2 separate regions of the Homo sapiens genome follow, and region 1 is linked to region 2. Evidence: promoter capture Hi-C in 16 types of primary human blood cells and fetal thymus (Javierre and others, 2016). All regions are on one chromosome and are shown on one strand. The core of a region is centred on a gene start or on the middle of the fragment in contact, and the rest is flanking DNA. Distances in the headings are between cores, read along the strand shown.

Region 1 (5,073 bases), core at 89-2,588, 150 kb before region 2:
CATGAGCTGCTCTTTATTAGTCTGTTTTGAGGCCCCGCCTGAAAACCTGAAAGCAGGCTTTGACTTTAGGCTTCACTCAGGACTGATTCCCAGTGAAGTCACTTAACTCATGTGTTGAACACCTGCTGTGTAACATGTGCAGAATGAAAGCTACATGACCTTTCTTTTCTCTTTCTTTTTTTTTTTTTTTCTGAGATAGAGTCTCACTCTGTTGCCCAGGCTGGAGTGCACTGGTGCAATCTCACCTCATTGCAACCTCTGCCTCCCGGGTTCAAATTATTCTGTCTCAGCCTCCCAAGTAGCTGGGATTATAGACACATGCCACCACACCCAGCTAATTTTTTGTATTTTTAGTAGAAACGGGGTTTCACCATGTGAAAAAGATGTTTTAAGAGATAAGGTCTTGTTATGTTGCCCAGGCTGGTCTCAAACTCCTGAGCTCAAGCAATCCTCCCGCCTCAGTCTCCCAAGGTGCTGGGATTATAGGCATGAGTCACCGTGCCCGGCCTTGCTGTTGCTTTTGTGAAACAACCCTGCTTTTTCCTGGAGAGCCACCTCTGCACCTTCATGTGGCTTGGCTACTCCGAGAGGGGACCTGAGGCTGCTGGGTCTCCCTTCTTGTTGTCTCCGTTGCCCTCCAACCTCCTTCCAAATTGCCACAGCCTCCCTCTAGGTCCTTATTCCCACGGTGCCAGGCCAAATCCCTCACCCAGCTCCTAGGCTGCAGCCTTCACCCGGCCCTGCCGTGAGCATGGTCCCTGTAGAGCCCCCTGGAGGTGTAGTTTCAGCTCTTGGTGAGGCGCGGGCAGCAGGCAGCGGGGCTGGAGTTCCTTCACAGCACGTGGATGCATCTCCCACAGCCCCCATGTGCGTCTGCAGACGCACAACTCTCCACAGCCAAGCCCATGGCAAAGCCCTTCAGCACCAGAGAGGCAGGGTAGTGGGCTACCCCTGGGAGCTGGCAGTTTCCAGCAAGGCCTCCTTTGCTGAGCCTTGGACAAGTCCCGTAATCCACCCTAAATACCTTTCTTGTAGGATCGCTAAGGACAGCAGCTGACGGGACTGGGTCCTTGGTGAATGGCAGCTGTTACCGTCCTTATAAGGAAAGGTGGAGTTACAAACAGGCATTTTGGCCCCAAGAAGGGGGTGGGACCCAGAGCAGAAACGTGCTGACCATGCTTCCCCCCAAATAGACCCACAGGTGACCCCTACTGGGATTTAGGCCCTCACCTTAGGGGTCTCTCCCTGACCCACCCAAACTCCTCTCATCCCCTCCCGCCGTCCACAAACACACTCCATACTGACTCAGAACTATCTGATATTTATTTCCCAATATTTTGATACTTGTTTTACAACTGGAATACATGGAATGAAGGGGCTGATATGGGACCCCAGGTAAGAGTGAGGTCAGGACTCTCTAAGGGTCTGGGGTTCCCCCTAGAGGGGACTTTGGGCATCCAGTTTCAGGGACTGAGCCGGGTTGGGTCGGGGGGCAGCATGGCATCGGACGTGGTGCCGTCTGTGCCTCTCCTGCCTGCGGTACAGCCGGCGCAGGTGTTTCCGAACGGCCCACAGCACCAGGTACACCTCCCACAGCAACTCAGCCTCCGGAGTCTTCAAAGGTGACTGCGTCCTCACTTGGGAGCTGACTGAGGCAGAACTCACTGATGACTGTAAGAGAAAGAGAAGATGTGCATGCGTAAATAGCTGGGTCTAGGGAGAAACTGCCGCTAGAACGACCCATAGATAAACAGCAAAGGGCTCCCTGATTCCACCTCTCCCATCAGCCCAACTCATACATCACCTCCTCCAGAAAGCCTTCTCAGGTTGCATCAAATGTTTGTCATTTCTATCCTTTTTTTTTTTTTTAATGAGACGGGGTCTTGCTATGTTGCCCAGGCTGGTCTCGAACTCCTGGGCTCAAGAGATCTTCCTGCCTTGGCTTCCCAAAGTGTTGGGGATTACAGGCGTGAGGCATCACACCTGGCCCATCAGTTCTATTCTTCTTTTTTTTGTTGTTTTGAGATGGAGTCTTGCTCTATCACCCAGGCTGGAGTACAGTGGCATGATCTCAGCTCACTGCATCCTCCACCTCCTGGGTTTAAGCGATTCTTCTGCCTCAGGCTCCTGAGTAGCTGGGATTACAGGTGCTCGCTATCACGCCCAGCTAATTTTTGTAGTTTTAGTAGAGAAGGGGTTTCACCATGTTGGCCAGGCTGGTCTCGAACTCCTGACCTCAAGTGATCAGCCGGCCTCGGCCTCCCAAAGTGCTGGGATTACAGGCGTGAGCCACCATGCCTGGCCTTTTTTTTTTTTTTTTTTTTGAGACAAGGTCTCACTCTGTCACCCAGGCTGGAGTGCAGTGGCATAATCTCAGCTCACTGCAACCTCCACCTCCCAAGTTCAAGTGATGCTCCCACCTCAGCCTCCTGAGTAGCTGGGACTACAGTCGTGCACCACCATGCCCGGCTAACTTTTATATATATATATGTGTGTGTGTGTGTGTGTGTGTGTGTGTGTGTGTGTGTATATATATATATATATTTTTTTTTTTTTTTGTAGAAATGGGGTTTTGCCCAGGCTGGTCTTGAACTCCTGAGCTCAAGTGATCCACCTGCCTCAGCCTCCCAAATGCTGAGATTACAGGCGTGAGTCGCCACGCTCGGCTTAAACTGTTTTTTTGTTTTGTTTTGTTTTGAGATCATTGTAGACTGACTGACCTGCAATTGGAAGAAATCATAGAGATCCTGTGCACCCTTTACTGAGTTCACCTCATAGGAAAATCTTGCAAATCTATACTATTATATCATAGTCAGGATATTGACATTGATCCAATCTACTGATCTTATGTAGATTTCCCCAGTTGTACTTGTACTCACTGGTGTGTGTGTGTGTGTGTGTGTGTGTGTGTGTGTGTGTGTGTGTATAATTTTACCAAGTTTTATCCAGTATGCAGGTTCATGTATCCAACTACCACAGTCAAGGTACAGAACATTTCCATCGGGCAGGAGAAACAAAAAACAAAAACATAAAAACAAAACAAAACAGAAAGCTACAGAACATTTCCATCAGACAGGAGAAAGCAAAAAACAAAAACAAAACAAAAAAAGATACAGAACATTTGCATCATCACAAGTGTCCCTCATGTTGTCCTTTAATAACTACACTCTTCTCCCCCTATCTCTGTGGCCCCTGGAAACCACTGAGCCACTAATATGTTTGCCATTTCTAGACTTTTGTTATTTCAAGAGTGGTAGATAATATAAACGGAATCATTCAGAATATAACCTTTTAGGATTGGTTGTTTCCACTCAGTATAATTTCCTTGAGGCCGGGCCCAGTGGCTCATGCCTATAATCCCAGCACTTTGGGAGGCCAAGGTGGGTGGATCACCTGAAGTCAGGAGTTCCAGACCAGCCTGGCTAACATGGTGAAACCCCATCTCTACTAAAAATACAAAAAATTAGCTGGGTGTGGTGGTGGGCACCTGTGGTCCCATCTAATCGGGAGGCTGAGGCAGGAGAATAGCTTGAAGCTGGGAGGCGGAGGTTGCAGTGAGCCGAGGTCGCACCACTTCATTCCAGCCTGGGCAATGAGAGTGAAACTCCGTCTCAAAACAAAACAAAAAATTTCCCTCAAGATTCACACCCACGTTACTGTGTGTATCAATAGTTTGTCCTTTTTACCTTTTTTTTTTTTTTTTTTTTGAGACGAAGTCTCCCTCTGTCACCCAGGCTGGAGTGCAGTGGCACAATCTTGGCTCACTGCAAGCTCCGCCTCCCGGGTTCACGCCATTCTCCTGCCTCAGCCTCCCGAGTAGCTGGTACTACAGGCGCCTGCCACCACGCCTGGCTAATTTTTTTGTATTTTTTTTTTTAGTAGAGACGGGCTTTCATCCTGTTAGTCAGGATGGTCTTGATCTCCTGACCTCGAGATCCGCCTGCCTCGGCCTCCCAAAGTGCTGGGATTACAGGTGTGAGCCACCGTGCCCGGCCTTTATTTTTTCAGGCAGAGTTTCACTTTTGTTGCCCAGGCTGGAGTGCAGTGGCATGATCTCAGCTCACTGCAACCTCCGCCTCCCAGGTTCAAGCGATTCTCCTGCCTCAGCCTCCCGAGTAGCCCACCACCATGCCCAGATAATTTTTTTGTATTTTTAGTAGATACAGGGTTTCACCATGTTGGCCGGGCTGGTCTCGAACTCCTGATCTCAGGTGATATGCCTGCCTTGGCCTCCCAAAGTGCTGGGATTACAGGCATGAGCCACCACGCCCGGCCCTGTCCTTTCCGTCTTTTTAGAATTTTATTTATTTGTGTGTTTGTTTTGTTTGTTTGCAGATACGGGGTCTCACTATGTTGTCTAGGCTGGCCTCGAAACCCTGGGCTCGAGCGATGCTTCTGCCTGGTGTTTCAAAGTGCTAGGATCACAGGTGTGTCGCTGCTCCTGGCCAGTTTGTCCCTTCTTATTGCTGAGTAGTATTCTGGGGTTTGAAGGTATCACAGTTTAACCATTCACCCACTGAAGGACATGGGTTGATTTTGGCTATTACAAATCAAGCTGCTGTGAACATCCACATTTAGATTTTTTTTTTTTTTTAGATGGAGTCTCGCTCTGTCACCCAGGCTGGAGTACAGTGGCGCTATTTCAGCTCACTGCAAGCTCCGCCTCCCAGGTTCACGCCATTCTCCTGCCTCAGCCTCCCAAGTAGCTGGGACTACAGGCACCCGCCACCACGCCCGACTAATTTTTTGTATTTTTAGTACAGACGGGGTTTCACTGTGTTAGCCAGGATGGTCTTGATCTCCTGACCTTGTGATCCACCTGCCTCGGCCTCCCAAAGTGTTAGGATTACAGGCGTGAGCCACTGCGCCTGGCCTCACATTTAGATTTTTGTGTGAACATAAGATTTTATTTATCTGGGATAAATGCCCAAGAGTACAACTGTTGGGTCATATGATAACTGCGTGGTTAGTTTTATAAGAAATAACCACTCTTGGCCAGGCGCTGTGGCTCACGCCTGTAATCCCAGTACTTTGGGAGTCTGAGGTGGGAGGATCGCCTGAAGTCAAGAGTTC
Region 2 (4,770 bases), core at 191-2,690:
CTGGAGGAGGGAGTCCGGCCCCAGGCCAGGGACTAAGGAGCAATGACCATTGTGCACATGCGTGTGGGAAGGGGTTGCTAGGGGGTGGGGACGGCTAACCAGGGTAAGAATGTTCAGGGGGCTGCCCAGGAGGGGCCCCCAACCTGACTATCATGGACAAGAGATTTGATGGATAGAATAAAAGGCTGCAGCGAGGCCTGGTGTGGAAGCCTTGGGGGCTGGGAGGGACAGGGGCAGGGATGGGGTGGGTGGGTGCCCGGCTTGGTGGGTGCAGGAGGGCAGGAGCCCAGGCAGGGGCAGGCAGCACAAGCAGCTCCAGGTCTCAGGTGCAGCAGAGCTGATGCTGCCTGAACCCTTCACATTGTTGTCCACTCCCTGCTCCCAAGAGCACACCTGGTCGTTTGGACTGGGAAGTTCTGGCCCTACCTTCTGGAACAACTCTATGCACAGATGCTCTTGGCTACCCCACTGGGATCCCCTGCCCACTAGACTTGTCCCCATCCTGAGGCAGCCTGTTCCTCCTGACCCCCGAAAGCTTCCCACCCATCTCCCTTCGGCCTGAAGCCAGCCCCCCTCCTCTCTCCCTTCTGTTTACCTCCCAGGTTTGGGCTCTATTTTCTACTCCTTCCACCTCTTCCTGAGTAACAAGGACACTCCCTTCATCCACACCCCATGCCTCCTGCCTTGCTTCCTGTACCTTCAAGTAGTTGGAAGAGGTCATGGGTGAGAATTCCTTCTCCTTGGCCTAGTCTGGCCCAGGTCTGGAGAGAAGGCAATGGAGATGTGAAGTGGAGGCCAGGTGTGGTGGCTACGCCTATAATCCCAGCACTTTGGGAGTCCGAGGTGGGCGGATCACCTGAGGCTAGGAATTTGAGACCAGCCTGGACAGCATGCTGAAACCCTGCCTCTACTAAAAATACAAAAATTAGCCAGGTGTGGAGGCATGCACCTGCAGTCCCAGCTACTCGGGAGGCTAAGGCACAAGAATTGCTTGAACCCGGGAGGCGGAGGTTGCAGTGAGCAGAGATCGCGCCACTGCACTCCAGCCTGGGTCACAGAATGAGACTCTGTCTCAAAAAAAAAAAAAAAAAAAAAAAGAAATTGAAGTGGAAAATGAGCTGGCAGGGGTGGTCAGGCAGGGGGTGAGCAATGAGGGCTCCTGAGCTGAGGAAGCAGGGGCGGGGGGAGGATGGGGGCTAGGGAGTCCTCAGAAGTTCCCGGAGATACTCCCTCACTGGACAGAGTGGGGTTCCCGATGACGTTACTTGAGGCCTGGGAGACGGCCTCTGCCCCTCACTGCTCCTCCCCCTCCTAAGGTCAACATTTATGTGTCCTAGACCTAGAGAGGTCCCAGGACACGCCACTGTCCCGCCTTCCCCATTGCCCGCCCCACTGGCCAGTCCCCACGCCCACACACCCAAGGCTGCCCCATCTGGCGCTGATTATCCTGCTGCTGCCGCCACCGCTGCTGCTGCTCTGCAAAATTCAGCTGCTGCCTCTGTCTTGAGGACCCCAGCGCCTTTCCCCCGGGGCCATGCTGCCTGCAGCCACAGCCTCCCTCCTGGGGCCCCTCCTCACTGCCTGCGCCCTGCTGCCTTTTGCCCAGGGCCAGACCCCCAACTACACCAGGTAGGTCTCTTGGCATCTTCCAGACAGCTCCAGTGAACTTCAGACCCCCGATTCCTTTGGGGTTATGCCTGGAGATATTTTGGGTTCCCTTGCTGACACACCACTCCCCAGATTCCCCACCGCCTCACCCTTCTCTGGCCCCCAAATCCTCCCCATCTGCTGCAAGACCTTGGTCTCCTGCAGGCCACCACTGCTCCCATTCCCCCACCTTCGTCCTCTGGTCTCTTAAGTCTCCCCACCCACCCAGATCCTTGACCCCCCATAGAACCCAAGAGAGAGCCAAGCTCCTGAACTTGCCTGGTAGCTGGATTCCAGGAAGGAATTCGAGAGGGATTGTAGGGGGAGGAGGGGGCAGTGAGTGGAGACTTGGGAGTCAGAATCTGAAGTAGTTTGGAACAGGGGCAGGGCTAAGGTGTGGAGCTCGCGGAGCCTGGCCTCCAGGTTCAATCAGAGGGCCATCGCCACTGCAGCTCCCTCCATCTCTCCACCCCCTCCCCCCCACCGCCTCGTGGCTGTGTCCACATCTGGAAGTAGTTAGGCGGCTCCTGTCCCTGGACTGCCAGGCAGAGTGAGGCGGGAGTCTGGAAGGGGGGCCGAGGAGGATTCCGGGAATTCCTGTTGGGGTGGGGGTGGGGACTCTTGGGGTTGGAGGGATGGTCGAGTTGCCAGGCCCACTTTTCCCTTATCTTTGTGGGAGTCTGGGACACCCCAGCCCTGTCCTGGCTGGTGGAAGCTGCCCCAGGTCTCTCAAGGCCTTTCCATTTCATCCCCCAGCTTCCCTCCTTGGAGTTTCATCCTCATCACCTCATCCCCATCTTGCCAGTGCTCCCCCGTCCCACCCGTCCCTGCTCTTTCCTGACCCCTTTTCTGTTCTCCAGACCCGTGTTCCTGTGCGGAGGGGATGTGAAGGGGGAATCAGGTTACGTGGCAAGTGAGGGGTTCCCCAACCTCTACCCCCCTAATAAGGAGTGCATCTGGACCATAACGGTGAGAAACCCCTCTGGGCACTACCCCTTGTTAAAGTCTCAGAGGCAAAAAGGCCTGACTGCGAAGGGACCCCCCCCCCGTCCCCCCCGCACCACCTTCTCAACCTGGGGCAGCTCCAAGTGTCTTCCCTCTGTCACTGAAGGCATCATTCCCACCGTAACACGCATCATCTTAACCCTTCCCTCAAATCTTCATTCTCCAGTCCCCGGCCCTCCCTCCTCTTCCAAAGCCTCAGCTCTTGTCCCCTGCACAGGCTACCAGCAGAGCTGCAGAGACCAGGCCCTCTGCTCTGCACTCACATGGAGGCCCCTTCCCATTCAGTCCGTTTCTGCAAGAAACGCTTGGGGCAGGGGAGCTGCCCTCTGGCTGGGTTGTGTGGGGCCTGACTCTGTGGGTCCCCGCCTCTGTCCCCGCTATCAGGTCCCCGAGGGCCAGACTGTGTCCCTCTCATTCCGAGTCTTCGACCTGGAGCTGCACCCCGCCTGCCGCTACGATGCTCTGGAGGTCTTCGCTGGGTCTGGGACTTCCGGCCAGCGGCTCGGACGCTTTTGTGGGACCTTCCGGCCTGCGCCCCTAGTCGCCCCCGGCAACCAGGTGACCCTGAGGATGACGACGGATGAGGGCACAGGAGGACGAGGCTTCCTGCTCTGGTACAGCGGGCGGGCCACCTCGGGCACTGGTGAGAACTCCCTCACCTCCGCCTTCCCCCCCTCCAGGCCCCGCCCCGGCCGCAGCCCCGCCCCCAGCCCTAACCTCCGCCCCGCCCACCCCGCGCCCCAGTGCCTAGGGCCCCCTACCTCCCTGACCCATTTTCCTCACTAACCGCCCCTTCAGTCCCTCCTCCCCGTCTTCTCTCCCCTCCTCCCGCACCCACCCATCCCTCTTCCAGGGCCCCCCCCAGGCGCGAGGCGGAAATGGGTCACCGACCCGCGGGTGGAATGGGCGGCCTGGGGTTACTGGGACGGTGAGTAACTGCCGGCCCCCGTCCGCAATCGGGCTCCCTCCGTCGGGCGCGAGGGGGCACCCCAGGGCTGGGGGGACTAGGTTCCTCCAACCCCGGGGGGCCCCTACACCCAGCCCTGGGCTCCCGATTGCGGTCCCATCACCCCCTCCTGGCGGCAGAAGTCTCCCTTGCAATGTTTCAGGCGGGGACCTCCCTAAAGGGGTCCTCGGGGGCTGTGCCCCAAGTCGAGGACACCCTCTCCAGCCTGAAAGGGGACTCTGCTGCAGGGCCGGGGAGATGGGATCTCCTAGGGGAAGAGGCGCGGTGCGGCCGCGGGTCGGGGAGGGGCCAGAAGGGGGCGTCCAGCCAGTTCCTCCTCCCGCTTCCACCGCCCGCCAGTGCGCCCTGCGGCCCCAGACTTCCCCGAGCCGCGCTCCTCCCGGCCGCTCTCTGTTAACCTGCCCCCATCTTACCTCCCCTTCTTCTCGTCCCCTCATCCTGAGCCCCAGACATCCGAGCTGCCTGCCGGGGCTCCCAGCCTAGAGTTCTCCTGAAGCTGACCGAGGGTCTCCACCGCCCCCCACCCCCGCTCCTCTCTCCCCTCCCCAGAGCACCAATTTTGCGGGGGGCGGCTGGAGAAGGCCCAGGGAACCCTGACCACGCCCAACTGGCCCGAGTCCGATTACCCCCCGGGCATCAGCTGTTCCTGGCACATCATCGCGCCCCCGGACCAGGTACCGACCCTCCTCCCCGGGCTGCCCTAGGGGACCCAGGCGGCGCCCTCCAGCTTGCAGCCAGCAGAGATTTATTGAAGATCTGCTGTGTCCCGAGCACTGCGCTTGCGCTGGTGGGCACCCAAAACAGCCCCAACCCCTGCATGCACGCAAACAAAAATGTAAAAATTACAACTGAGACAAGTCTCAGGAGAGCGAGGTACAGGGTCCTGGTATAACACGCGGGCCTGTCACTTGTGAGTGCGCCAGGACTTGACCTTGCCAACCACGACGACCGACACCCCTGCAGGGTCCCATGGGTGTGTGTGGTCCTCCGTGCTGTGGTGTGAACGCCTTCAGGAGGGGGGCCCAGAGGACGCGGGAGGTGGGAGTGGGAGCTGCTGCAGGCACCCAGTAGGAGATGAGGTGCAGGCGCCCAGGGGTGTCCCGCCGCGCAGTCCCCGCCTCCGCCCGCCGCCAGGTCATCGCGCTGACCTT

Evidence for each region. Contacts are between HindIII fragments. The CHiCAGO score rates a contact against its expected background, and 5 or more counts as called.
Region 1: a fragment that was not itself captured here is called in contact with the fragment with the promoter of PCOLCE in region 2 in 1 of 17 cell types (erythroblasts); the score reaches 5.6 in erythroblasts.

The regions. Positions count from the first base shown.
Region 1 is chr7:100,455,315-100,460,387 of GRCh38, forward strand. It overlaps TSC22D4-C7ORF61 (TSC22D4-C7orf61 readthrough), which reads right to left. Exons shown (of 6, transcript NM_001395846.1): 6 at 1,306-1,671. The coding sequence ends at 1,438. SPACDR (sperm acrosome developmental regulator) reads right to left here. Exons shown (of 3, transcript NM_001004323.3): 3 at 1,306-1,671. The coding sequence ends at 1,438. Among named protein-coding and RNA genes, the nearest start is that of SPACDR, 6.4 kb to the right of the region's middle. RefSeq lists a silencer at 1,788-1,950. The HindIII fragment of the contact is 8,422 bases long and covers 1-5,073 here.
Region 2 is chr7:100,600,923-100,605,692 of GRCh38, forward strand. It overlaps PCOLCE (procollagen C-endopeptidase enhancer), which reads left to right and starts at 1,441. Exons shown (of 9, transcript NM_002593.4): 1 at 1,441-1,629; 2 at 2,508-2,616; 3 at 3,037-3,295; 4 at 4,169-4,293; 5 at 4,754-4,770. The coding sequence starts at 1,535. FBXO24 (F-box protein 24) reads left to right here. Exons shown (of 10, transcript NM_033506.3): 10 at 1-195. PCOLCE-AS1 (PCOLCE antisense RNA 1) reads right to left here and starts at 3,116. Exons shown (of 9, transcript NR_038910.1): 1 at 2,916-3,116; 2 at 1,418-2,244; 3 at 698-761. RefSeq lists an enhancer at 2,550-3,342 and silencers at 3,350-3,729, 3,910-4,059. The HindIII fragment of the contact is 14,893 bases long and covers 534-4,770 here.